2 separate regions of the Homo sapiens genome follow, and region 2 is linked to region 1. Evidence: promoter capture Hi-C in 16 types of primary human blood cells and fetal thymus (Javierre and others, 2016). All regions are on one chromosome and are shown on one strand. The core of a region is centred on a gene start or on the middle of the fragment in contact, and the rest is flanking DNA. Distances in the headings are between cores, read along the strand shown. Region 1 holds the start of CEBPB (CCAAT enhancer binding protein beta). Region 2 has its middle 11 kb from the start of PARD6B.

The links. The method cuts DNA at HindIII sites, captures the fragments that hold promoters and counts their contacts. A CHiCAGO score of 5 or more calls a contact.
Region 2: a fragment that was not itself captured here is called in contact with the fragment with the promoter of CEBPB in region 1 in 1 of 17 cell types (naive B cells); the score reaches 5.7 in naive B cells.

Annotation. Positions count from the first base shown.
Region 1 is chr20:50,186,369-50,192,804 of GRCh38, reverse strand. CEBPB (CCAAT enhancer binding protein beta) reads right to left here and starts at 1,975. Exons shown (of 1, transcript NM_005194.4): 1 at 137-1,975. The coding sequence starts at 1,771. The coding sequence ends at 734. CEBPB-AS1 (CEBPB antisense RNA 1) reads left to right here and starts at 736. Exons shown (of 7, transcript NR_125739.1): 1 at 736-1,141; 2 at 1,383-1,537; 3 at 2,520-2,807; 4 at 3,244-3,349; 5 at 4,178-4,262; 6 at 5,678-5,792; 7 at 6,385-6,436. RefSeq lists silencers at 633-742, 1,163-1,602, 1,743-1,952, 1,779-2,073, 2,033-2,442 and an enhancer at 6,121-6,210. The HindIII fragment of the contact is 16,423 bases long and covers 1-6,436 here.
Region 2 is chr20:50,716,797-50,723,602 of GRCh38, reverse strand. No RefSeq gene overlaps it. Among named protein-coding and RNA genes, the nearest start is that of PARD6B, 11 kb to the left of the region's middle. The HindIII fragment of the contact is 416 bases long and covers 4,897-5,312 here.

The sequences.
Region 1 (6,436 bases), core at 726-3,225:
AAAACCTCCAAAAATAACAGCAGCCCCCCACACACAACCCCCTACACACCAGAAACGCAAAAACAAAATCCTACAAATCCAAAATAAAGTAAAAAAATAAAAAACAAAAGCCAATTACTGCCCCCAAAAGGCTTTGTAACCATTCTCAAAAAAAAGTTTATTAAAAGTGTTCTTAATGCTTGAAACGGAAAAGATTCCCAAAATATACAGACGCCTCTTTTCTCATAGAAATAGATTATTTTTTATAATACAAAAAAAGACCAAAAAACAAAACAAAACAAAACATCAACAGCAACAAGCCCGTAGGAACATCTTTAAGCGATTACTCAGGGCCCGGCTGACAGTTACACGTGGGTTGCGTCAGTCCCGTGTACACACGCGTTCAGCCATGTTTAAACCGATTGCATCAACTTCGAAACCGGCCCGCCCGCCGGCGCCTGGAGAGGGGCAGAGGGAGAAGCAGAGAGTTTATCATTCATCTGTACACATAGACGTTTCTTCTTTAAATAACACCACGGGCGGGAGCCCCATCTGCATGTGCGGTTGGTTTGGACAAAAATATAGATATATATATATAATAAAATATTAAAATTACCGACGGGCTCCCCGCGCTGCCAAGTGCCCCAGTGCCAAAGTTTTGCCGGCGCCGCCGGGGGCGGGGGCGAGGGCGCGGGCGCGGGCGCTCCCCGGAGTCTCAGCCCCGGCCGGCAGGGGGACGCGCGCGGGGGCCGCGCTAGCAGTGGCCGGAGGAGGCGAGCAGGGGCTCGGGCAGCTGCTTGAACAAGTTCCGCAGGGTGCTGAGCTCGCGCGACAGCTGCTCCACCTTCTTCTGCAGCCGCTCGTTCTCGGCCGTGAGCTCCAGGACCTTGTGCTGCGTCTCCAGGTTGCGCATCTTGGCCTTGTCGCGGCTCTTGCGCACGGCGATGTTGTTGCGCTCGCGCCGGATCTTGTACTCGTCGCTGTGCTTGTCCACGGTCTTCTTGGCCTTGCTCTTGACCTGCGAGGGCGCCGGCGCGGCCCCCGCGTAGCAGGCGGTCGGGGGCGCCTTGGCGTCAGCGGGGCTCGGCGTGCCGGGCGGGCTGGACGAGGAGGACGTGGAGAGGCTCCCGCTGCTGCCGCTCGGCACCGCCTGGTAGCCGAGGTAAGCGCGCAGCGCGTACGGGAAGCCCGCCGCCATGCCTGCGCCGCCGCCCGGCGCCCCGGCCTCCTCCTTCCGCTTGCAGTCCGCGGGCTCGAAGCCCGGCTCCGCCTTGAGCTCGGCGGGCGGCGGCGGCGGCGGGGGCGGTGGGTGCAGGGGCGCGAAGCAGCCGGGGTGCAGCGCGCCCTTGGCGGCCCCCAGGCGCCCCAGGCTCACGTAGCCGTACTCGGCCGGCTTCTTGCAGTTCTTGCCCCCGTAGTCGTCGGAGAAGAGGTCGGAGAGGAAGTCGTGGTGCTGCCCGGAGGAGGCGGGCGCGGGGGCGGGCGCGGGCGGAGCCGCCTCGAAGGTGTCCGTGGCCGTGGCGGGCGCCGGGGCCTGCGGCGCGCCCAGCGGCTCCAGGTACGGGCTGAAGTCGATGGCGCGCTCGTGGTCGCCGATGCTGCCCAGCTCGCCGGCGGGGGGGCGCGGCCCGGGTCTGGCCGCGGGGGGCGCCGCGGGGGCCGCCTTGCCGCCGTACGCAGCAGCCAAGCAGTCCGCCTCGTAGTAGAAGTTGGCCACTTCCATGGATTTAAAGGCAGGCGGCGGCGGCGGCAGGGGGAGACATGCTGGGTCCCAGGCCACCAGGCGTTGCATGAACGCGGGTGCCCGGGGAGGGGGCCTGGGGCTGCCCGCTCCGGCCGGCCCGCAGGTGGCGCGGCCTCCCTGCTCTGAGCTGTCGCCGCTGCGTCGCTGCTGCTGCTGCCGCCGCTGCCGGGGTGGCCGCTATTAGTGAGGGGGCTGGTGGCTGGACCCTCGGGTGGGTCCCCTTCCCAGTCCCGTGCGCGGCTCTGACTCGCTAAAGTTTCTCCTGAGCCCGGTTATTTATAAGGGCGGCCCGTAGCAACCGCTGCGTCACGCCGGCCCCTCCCGCCGCGCCGCCGGGACGCGAAGGACACGGCCGCGGCCGCCCGAGACCCCCGGGAGGACGGCGGCAGGGCGCAGCGGAGGGACCGGGCACCCGGAGCGCGTTTTCGGGGGGCCCCCGGGACGCAGGGGCGGCCTCACGCCCCCTGCCCACCCCCGCCCGGCCGCCCCGGGATTGGGAGCGAGAGGGGGCGGTGCGACCCCGCCCCCGGACCGCCCCTCTGGGCTGGAGGCTGTCCTGGAAGGCGGGGGAATCGGAGGAGGGGGCGACCTGATCGCCTTCCCCCCGAGACGCGGCCCCGGCCCGCCCCCTGCTGGAGGAGGCGGAGGTTTCAGGAGGGCCGAGCAGAGCCCCGACGGCCGACCAGGGTCGGCTCCCCGGGCCGAACCCTGGAGACCCCAGCCCGCAGCTCTAGCTCCAGGAGAAGCGACCCATCTCCGTGGCCCTTCCTCCCGTAAACTCCCACCTCCTCCCCAGGTCCCCGGCTTTAGAAAGAAGACTTGACGCCTGTGACGACTCCCCTCTTAAGCCACAGACAATATGAGGACCCCGGGGGTCGGCGCGACCGGGCAGGATCGCGCCCCGCTTGGGGCTGGACCCTGGTCCACGGAGCCCCGCCCCTAGCCCCGCCCACCACACCTGCCGCCTGCTCGAGGCTTGGACACGCCCGGGTCTTCTCTTGCCCCGCGCTGCGCCACCCGACCTGGGCCCTGGGATGGGGCAGGGGCGGGGGGTGCTCGGCCCTGCCACACTGTGTGACCTTGGGTGAGTCACTTCACTTCTCCCAGCTGCAATCCATGAAGGGTGTCGCTACTGTCAGTGGTGGTGGCATTGTTCCCACCAGACTCCCAAACCTAAGGCTTACGTTGTGGGCTGCACATCAGAGAGAACGGGACCCCCACGGATTGTGCCAGTGGAGGCCCAGAGAGAGCATGGCGTGGCATACCAAGGTCACATGGCCGCATGTCCCCCATTCATCCCAAATGAAATGCCCTCATCTGAGCCCTAAGACCTATTGCCAGTCCCAGAGGCCAAAAACTTCTGTTTCTGAAGTTGCTAGGGAGGGACTTAAGCGAGGCCTCACGGGAGGGGGTGGTATGCAGGAAAGAGAAGGAAAGAGAAAGATAAGTTTTTACCAAGTCCCTGCCCTGTGCTTACGGTGGGCCTGCACCCCGAGGTTCAACTTTTTTCACCCCACCAGGAAGATGCTTTTGCTGCTGCCATTTCACAGACGGGAAAGCGACAACGGCCCGCCTGGACTTGAACACAGGCCCAAGGCCTTCTGACCACTTGCCCGCCTCTGCTGGGTAGGCTCAGGTTAGAGGGCCCTTTGCCCTCCCGGACCCATTCCTAGGCCATTGGGGCAGCTCCCTGGGCCCACCTCTCTGCCACTCCTAGCCCAGGCCACCTAGGCAGGAGCTCCCAGCCTGCCCGGGGCTGATCCCCAGCCCACTGACCCCAGCCCTGGCCCCAGCGGGCAGGCGGGCATTGCTCAACCTTTGGTGTTATCTGCTGAGCTGGGGTGACCTCCGCCCCCAAGAGCTGGAGAAATGACATCTCTGGGCACCCTTGGTGGGTAGGAGGCAGGGAGGGAGGGGATAAAACACTGGCCCAGCCTGCTGGCTTTCTGGGTCTTCCCAGCAGCCTCTGGGTTGGGGAGGGATCAAGGCCCAGAGGGGTGCGGCAGCTTCCCTAGGGCCACCCGGCCAGCCCTTCCTCACTGCAAAATGGGACACTCAGGGCTGAGCTAGAGGCCACGGCTTCTGAGAGGCCCTCCCTGTCCCACCTGCTAGTGAATTTCCTTCCCTATCGCCAGCCACCATTATCCTAGCTGTCTACCTCAGTCTCCCTGCAGGCTGCCACTTGGGGAGGGCTGGCCCACGAGGGACTCCTGAGCACAGCACGCTCAACATTTACCAGTGAAGGAATGCATTTGCTGTTCCCTGTGCACCAAGAACACTGTCACCCCACCTCTGCCCAAGGCAGCTCCTCAGGTCTCAGCCCAAAAGCTGCCTCCTCCGGGAAACCCTCCCTGACCTTCCCATGGGAAGTCTAGGCCCTCAGTCACTCCTCTCACACCCCTGCTTCATTTCCGTCACCATTCTCATTATAATCAGAATTATCTTGCCTGCCAGTCTTGCTGTCTGTCCCCACGGCCTTCACTACTGTGTCCCTGGTGCCTAGAACAGAGCCTGGTACATAGAAGGTGCTCGATGAATGGTGAGTGAATAAATGGAGGAGGCTGAGAAGAAGGAGAGGTTCCTCGTTAGCTGGGCTGTGTGACCTTAGGCAAAATGGCTCCCCTCTCTGAACCAAAGCACTCGCCCACGTTCCCTTTCTGGATTCTGAAGAGATGCAGGGAGATATGGGGGAACTGAAGCTAATTGGAGGATTTGCTGTGTGTTCTTAGGCCAAACTTCCACCTTCTCTGAACCACATTCCAAGCTCTTTGCATGTATTAACTCATTTAATCCTACTGATAATTTGTAGGAGGCAGGTCTTTTTTCTTCTTCTTTTTTCATATTTTTCAATGTTTTGTAGAGATGGATATGTCTCACTCTGTTGCTCAGGCTTTTCTCGAACGCCTGGCCTCAAGTGGCCCTCTTGCCTCAGCCTCCCAAAGTGCTGAGATTACAGGTGTGAGCCGCTGCGCCAGGCCACAGTCTTATCATTATCTCCACTTTATAGATGAGGAAACTGAGGCCCAGAAGAGCTAAGTGTGTCTGCTCCAGGTCACATGAAAGGATGAGAAGGAATAAAATCTTTCCAGTCTGACTTTCCCTCTTGGGTTTGTCATAACAGGCCTGGCAATGTGAGTCCCATCTTCTGGATAGAAGAACTGAGGCACAGAGAAGGGTAGACCTGGGGTCACACAGTGCGTTAAGGTGTTACTCGGACCTTGCAGGCCAGCCCCCAAAGACCAGACTCAGCCCCAGCAGGGGTCTAGGCCCTCTGGCCTCTGGGGTGGAACATGCTTGCCACCCTTCCCCACCCTCCACCCCCTGCTGGGGATGACCCATCCCTTCTCAGCGCAGGTCCCACCCCGGTGCCGACCCAGGTGTCCTGCAGGGAAGCTGCAAGCTAGGATGACGTAAGCCCTTGTTTTTACAAGGCTCTTGCTCAACAGGCCCCGCCTGCTGCTCCCCCACCCCCACCCCAGTACTGTTCAGCCTTTCCCCAAGAAGTGGGGATGGTGGGAGCTTGAACCACCACGGCCCAGAGGCCCAGAGTACGTGAGTGGCTGTGTGGGCACAGGAAACCAGGATCCCCCTGGCGCCACCTCTCCCAGTCACCTGCCCTCAGAACCTAGAGCCGGAAAGGATCTCAAACTGGCAGCCAGTGGCCAAATCGAGACCACAGATGTGTTCAATTTGACCCCATAGCGTTTTGCTTGATGTGTGTGTGTTTAAGTGAATTTATTGCCAACATTTAAAAATCAGGAGATTTCACATCAAAATTCAAATTTCCAGCTCCTCTTTTAAAACCTGAAGCTGTGGGCTGGGCCCACGTGGCCACATGGTGGTGGGCAGGAGCCAGGCGGGGGCGGGGAGGGAACAGGCACTTTCCTACCTGGGACACACGTCCTCCTCTGCCCCCAAACTGCTTTTCACAATTCCTCCTCCCCATCTCTGCAGCTTTTCCCTATCCCATTTTCAAGAGGAGAAAACTGAGGCGATTTGCCAAGGGGAGATCCACGTGGCTGCTTTGACAGAGAGTGTTCTGCAAAAGGGCTTAGAAATCAGCCAGCAGGTGGGAAAATATGGCGGAGAGGTGAACCATCAGAACATGAATGGGGGGGTGTCTCTAGTGGGCGTGGGGCAGGGGGATGGCAGGGGGATGGCCTTTCATGCTGCCCTGTGCCTTCCATGCTGTGGCTCTCCGGCCGTGTCTGGTGTCCCCTCTGGGCCTCAGTCCCTGGTATATAAAATGAGGTGATAATATTCTATCTGGGATTCTGGGCCTGCTGTTACCCCTCACTGCTGGCCTTCCCCGACACATTAGAGTTAATCAGATGTCCCTTTCACCCCACAAAGCAGGCAGATGGGGAAACTGAGGCCCGAAGAGGATTAGAACTTCCTACTTCCCCCTCCAAATCCCCCTTGTACCCTTGTGAATGGGTACAAGAGCCAGACTTAAAAGCCAGATTCCCTGATTCCAATGTTTGAGATTTTCCCCATCATGCCTCCTCTCTGAGGCCTCAGTTTCCCCATCTGCCAAGTGGGGCTGGCAGAGATAGATCCCCAAGGGCTGCCAGGCTCCGAGGTTCTGAGATCCAGGATTTTGGAGACGGGAGGTGCTCAGGACCGGTAGTGAAACTTGCCTGAGTATATACTGCCCCCAGGTGGCAGGTTCTGGGACTGCAGGAGCCATTCACATGCGTGAAGATCCGCTGG
Region 2 (6,806 bases), core at 3,855-6,354, 530 kb before region 1:
AGATTGTGCCACTGCACTCCAGCCTGGGTGACAGAGCAAGACTCCATCTCAAAAAAAAAAAAAAAAGAGAGAGAGAGAGACCGACCATGGCCAGATCATGCAGCCTCTTGCAGGCTATGACAAGGACATTGAATTTTATTCTGAGGTCATTGAGAAGCTATCTTGGAACAATTAGAAATAATTTTAAGATCTGTGGCATCTGAATCAGACCTAGATGATGGGAGAAAAGGAAGAGGTGTTCTGGGCAGGAGAATGGCAAGAACAAAGGTTTGAGCAGAGGTTGATCAAGGTGAGGACAGTGAGGCAGGCTGTTCACATGGAGGGATGTAAAGACAGTGGGAAGCCTTGGGAGATGACATTTGAATGGGGAGGCTGGCGCCATTTTATAGAGATCATCGAGGCAAGATCTTTAGTCTCTTCCAGATTTTATCTTGTAGGCCAGAGTGTCCCAAATGTGACTGAGGAAAAGAATTGTCTTGGGTGCTTATTAAAAATGCAGATTCCAAGCGCCTCTTCTGTGATCTCATGTCTGGTAGTCTGGAGCGGGGCCCAGGAAACCTATAATTATTATTATTTTTTGAGACAAGGTCTCACTCTGTCACCCAGGCTGGAGTGCAGTTGCACAATCACTACTCACTACAGTCTCGCCCTCCCAGGTTCAAGCAAGCCTCCTACCTCAGCCTCCTGAGTAGCTAGGACTACAGGTGTGCGCCTCCACACCGGGCTAATATTTTGTATTTTTTGTACAGATGGGGTTTCACCTTCTTGCCTAGGCTGGTCTCAAACCCGTGGGCTCAAGCAATCCACCTGCCTTGGCCTCCCAAAGTGTTAGAATTACAGACGTGAGCCACCACACCTAGCAGGGAACCTGTAATTTGGACTGTCATCCTGGTGATCCTTATCTCAAGCAACTTTAGGAAATACTGATGTAAGTATTCAGGTGTCATCGCAGGTTTTTGACCCGGGAGTCAGAAATTGGTGTGTTAAGACAGATTTGAGGAAAGAGAGCTGCAGGCAGGCCTGCATTTGAAGAGGCCCTTGGAAGAGGAACTTGCACAGAATGTGAAGGTCTGGACTTAGGCTGTGGAAGGGAACTGTATTTGTTTTTTGTGTGTGTTTTGTTTTGTTTTTGAGACAGAGTCTTGCTTTGTCGCACAAGCTGGAGTGCAGTGGCTTGATCTCAGCTCACTGGAACCTCTGCCTCCTGGGTTCAAGCAATTCTTGTGCCTCAGCCTCCTGAGTCGCTGGGATTACAGGCGTGCACCACCGCGCCTGACTAATTTTTGTATTTTTCGTAGAGAGAGTTTCACCATGTTGGCCAGGCTAGTCTCGAACTCCTGACCTCAAGTGATCTGCCTGCCTCGGCCCCGCAAAGTGCTGGGATTACAGACGTGAGCCACTGCGCCTGGCCAGGAAGTGTATTTGTTCACAAAGTACCACACGCTGGGTGGCTTAACACAACACAATTTTGCTGTCTCACAGTTCTGGAGGCCAGAAGTCTGAAATCTATGTATTGGCAAGGTTGGTTCCTTCTGGAGGCTCTGAGGGACAGGCTGTTCCGTGCCTCTCTCCCAGCCTCTGTGGCTGCCAGCAATCACTAGTGTTCCTTGACTGGCAGCCGAATCACTCTGAGCTCTGCCTCCATCATCACATGCATCACGTGGTGTTCTCTCTGTGTGTGTGTGTCTGTCTGTCTGTCTGTTTCTGTGTCTATTTTTATAAGGGCACCAGCGATTGGATTTAGGACTACTCTAATGACCTAATTTTAATTTTTTTTTTTTTTTTGAGGTGAAGTCTTGCTCTGTCGCCCAGGCTGGAATGCAGTGGCATGATCTCGGCTCACTGCAACCTCCACCTCCTGGGTTCAAGTGATTCTCCTGCCTCAGCCTCCTAAGTAGCTGGGACTGCAGGTGCTTGCTACCACACCCAGCTAAATTTTTGTGCTTTTAGTAGAGATGGGGTTTCGCCATGTTGGCCAGGCTGGTCTCGAACTCCTGACCTCAGGTGACCTACCCACCTTGGCCTCCCAAAGTGCTGGAATTACAGGTGTAAGCCACCATGCCAGGCCTGACCTCATTTTAGTTTTATTACATCTGCAAAGGCCCTATGTCCTAATAAGTTCTCACTCCCAGGTACTGGAGATTAAGACTTTAACCTATCTTTTTGGGGAACACAATTCAGTCTACAACAGGAACATACTGATGGAGTAATAATCAAAATTCTTCTATAATACTGATCACAGTGGCTGGGAACACTGTGCTATGCATTTCACAAGCGTTCCATCCTCACAACTATTTGGTGTTAATACACCATGTTTATATTGTTCAAAAAAAAGAAGAGCAGGCCGGGCACGGTGGCTCACGCCTGCAATCCCAGCACTTTGGGAGGCCAAGGCAGGCGGATCACGAGGTCAGGAGATCTAGACCATCCTGGCTAACACAGTGAAACCCCGTCTCCACTAAAAATACAAAACATTAGCTGGGCGTGGTGGCGGGCGCCTGCAGACCCAGCTACTCGGGAGGCTGAGGCAGGAGAATGGTGTGAACCCAGGAGGTGGAGCTTGTGGTGAGTCGAGATGGTGCCACTGTACTCCAGCCTGGGCAACAGAGCAAGACTCCATCTCAAAAAAAAAAAAAAAAAAAAAAGAAGAGCAGACTGAGTCTTGAAGAGGTGAGGCTTCCTGCTCAGAGCCTTGTCATCAAGGCAGAAACTTGTCCAGAAAGCACAGTTGAGGCAGGAGAAGGAAGAGGAAACAGAATAGTGAAATGCTTGGAGCAAGGACTCTGGAGTCATACTTGGGTTCAAGTCCTGATTCTGCCACTAGGGGAAGTGAGCTGGCCTTCCTGACTCAGTTTCTTCATCTGTAAAATGGGGATAATAATGGTACCTATTCCTTGGATTTTTCATAAGGATCCAATGAGATATTTTTAAGGGGTTTGATATAGTGCCTAGTATTATACATAGTAAGCTCTCAAAAAATTGTCACTATAATTCATATTATTCAACTATTTGGGTGTTTTTTTTTTTTTTTTTTTTTTAGAGACAGTCTCACTCTGTTGCCCAGACAGGAGTGCAGTGGCACAATCACAGCTCACTGCAGCCTTGACTTCCCAGGCCCAAGCGATCCTCTCACCTCAGCCCCCCAAAGTAGCTGGGACCCCAGGCATGTGCCACCATGTCCACCTAATTTTATTTATTTTTTTGTAGAGATGGAGTCTCACTATGTTGCCCAGGCTGGCCTCAGCTCCTGGGTTCAAGCGATCCACCTGCCTCTGCCTCCCACAGTGCTGGGATTACAGGCAGGAGCCACCACACCAGGCTCTTCAACTATTAAGAGACAGAGGAGGAGTGGACAGATAAGCAAAAACCATTGTGGGCATTCACGCAAGGGGAGGAGACTATTATCATCCCCATTTTAACCTTTAAGTTACGTGTCGCCTGAAAATTGAGGAAGAAGAAAAGTCTGAAGGATTTGTTGAAAAGCTCTTTGCCTGGCACTTAATAAATTCTCTTAATGGCTGTCCCGTGACTGGCCAGGACATGTATTTGGAACTTTGGGAAACAAGTCAGTGTAGTGATAGGAATAAAAGGCATATCATGGGCCCCTGCAGAGTGGATATTGAGGAAATGAGGACCATAGTTACAAATGGCAAGGAATCAACCATGGCTGGAGGCAGCCACGAATAGAAACAGAAAAGATGAAGGAGCATTAAAATGTGCAGGTGTTGGCCAGTCGTGGTGGCTCATACCTGTAATCCCAGCACTTTGGGAGGCTGAAGCAAGCAGATCACAAGGTCAGGAGTTCAAGACCAGCCTGGCCAATACAGTGAAACCCCGTCTGTACCAAAAATACAAAAAATTAGCCGGGCATGGTGGCAGGAGCCTGTAATCCCAGCTACTTGGGAGGCTGAGACAGGAGAATTATTTGAACCTGGGAGGTGGAGGTTGCAGTGAGCCAAGATCATGCCCGGGCGACAGTGGGAGACTCCGTCTAAAAAAAAAAAATGTGCAGGTGTTGTTTCTAAAGGTACATGTAGGCTGGGCTTGGTGGCTCATGCTTGTAATCCCAACACTTTGAGAGGCCAAAGTGGGAGGACTCCTTGAGCCTAGAGGTTCGAGACCAGCCTGGGCAACACAGTGAGACCCCATCTTAATTAATAAATAAAAAATTATTTTAAAATTAAAAACAGATAAATAAAATAAAGGTACATATACACTCTCATTTCATCTTTTTTTTTTTTTTTTTGAGATGGAGTCTAACTGTCACCCAGGCTGGAGTGCAGTAGTGCCATGTCGGCTCACTGCAACTCCCGCCTCCTAGGTTAAAGTGATTATTGTGCCTCAGCCTCCTGAGTAGCTGGGATTACAGGCACGTACCACCATGCCTAGCTAATTTTTATATTTTTTGGTAGAGACAGAGTTTCACTATGTTGGCCAGGCTGGTCTCGAACTCTTGACCTCAAGTGATCCGCCCACCTCGGCCTCCCAAAGTGCTGGGATTACAGGCACGAGCCACCACACCCGGCCTCTCATTTCATCTTAAGGTGATGGGCACATATCAGTTTGCTTGTGACTTTCCCAGTTATAGTCCTGAGAGTCCCAAGAAACCTTCCAGTCCCTTGTATACCCTATTTTATCTTCATCAAAACATATGGATTTAGGTACTGTTATCATCCTCAATTTATAGATTGGAAATAAAGGCACAGAGACGTTAAATAGCTTGGCCAGCATCACACAGATAAGTGGCAGAGCTGTGTGGTATTGAAACCCAAGCAGTTGGGTTCCAGAGTCCTTACCCTTTTATATTGCCTTTTTTATGGTCAAATGAATTTCTATTATTAGTTTAAAACTTTCTTCCTTCACGAAATACATCATTTTATTTGGGACCAGAAAGCTTGCCTGTGTCTTTTTCCTCCTGCCCCGAGATAATCCTACAGGTAAAAAGTCAGTTAAGAGTCAGGTTGCAATGCTTGTTGGCTTCCAGGAGCCTTCTAGAAACATGATATCCTCCCGGGGATCTGCCCCACAGCCCCAGCGTCTGATCCGAATTCCTCATGGGAATTTTTAAGGAGGAGGAAGAGTGGTTAACCATGGAGAAGAGTTTCCAAAATGAAAATAAACCAATAAACAACATGACTTGTTAACGGAGATCCAGTGACTTCGCCTTTTTAAGTTCAACACGAAGGCGGGGAGAACGAAATCATTTATAGAACTCTTATCTCCCCCAGGAGATATTTAAGAAGTGAACATATTTTCTGAAATTTAAAGGAATGCCAAGTTTATGTAAAATTATACCAATGATGACAGAAGCTTGAGAACAACAACAAAGCCAGCCAGAGTTGATGCCCACGCTTTCAGGCTGAGAAACACAGAAGAGGACAGAAGAGGGCAGCATGAACGTCATGCAAGTGGGGTGATGGGGAGCAAGGCAGGGAGTCTCTCTGAGCTGGGAGAGCTTGGACAGGGGACCTCACCTTTCTGGCTCTCTAAAATTAGATGCAGGGCCAGGCACAGTGGCTCACACCTGGAATCCCAGCACTCTGGGAGGTCAAGGTGGAAGGATCACTTGAGCCCAGGCGTTTGAGACTAGCCTAGGCCACATAGTGAGACCTCATCTCTGCAAAATTAGCCAGGTGTGGTAACACACACTTGTATTCCAAGCTCTTCGGGAAGCTTAGGTGGGAGGATCACTTGAGCTTGGGAGGTCGAGGCTGCAGTGAGCTGTGATCATGTCACTGCACTCCAGCGTGGGTGACAAGAGGGAGAGCCTGTCTCAAAAATAAATAAATAAAAAGTAAAATAAAATGAGACACTGAGAGTAGCTACTCCAAAGAGTTGTACTAAGAATTCTACCAAACTGGGTGTGGCGGCTCACACCTGGAATCCCAGCACTTTGGGAAGCTGAGGAGAGGATTGCTTGAGTTCAGGAGTTTGAGACCAGCCTGGGCAACATGGTGAAATCCCATCCCTACAAAAGATACAAAAATTAGCCAGGCGTGGTGTTGCATGACTGTAGTCCCAGCTAACTGGGAGGCTGAGGAAGGAGGATCACTTAAACCCAGGAGGTTGAGGCCACAGTGAGCTATGTTTGTGCCACTGCACTCCAGCCTGGACAACACAGTGAGACCCTGTCTCAAACAAACAAACAAAAAACACACACAGGAAAAAAAGAAAAAATGGAATTCCACTAGCGCTGGGCATGCTGGCTCATGTGTGTAATCCCAGCACTTTGAGGGGCTGGTGTGGGAGGATTGCTTGAGCCCAGAATTTTGAGGCTGCAGTGAGCTATGATTGTGCCACTGTAGTCCAGCCTGGGTGACAGAGCAAGACCCTGTTTCTTTCTTTCTCTTCCTTTCTTTCTTTCTTTTCTTTTCTTTCTCTTCTTTCCTTTCTTTCCTTTTTCTTTCTTTCTTTTTTTTTTTTTTTTTGAGACAGAATTTTGCTCTTGTCGCCCAGGCTGGAGTGTAATGGCACAATCTCTGCTCACTGCAACCTCTGCCTCCTGGGTTCAAGTGATTCTTCTGCCTCAGCCTCCCTAGTAGCTGGGATTACAGGTGCCTGCTACCACTCCCAGCTAATTTTTATATTTTTAGTAGAGATGGGGTTTCACCATGTTGGCCAGACTAGTCTCAAACTCCTGACCTCAAGTGATCCACCCACCTCAGCCTCCCAAAGTGCTGGGATTACAGGCATGAGCCACCACGCCCAGCCAACCCTGTTTCTTAAAAAAAAAAAAAAAGAAAAAAGAAAAGCATCCCAACAGCTAATAAAGATCTTAACACTGTTTCTGGCACATGGCACATGCT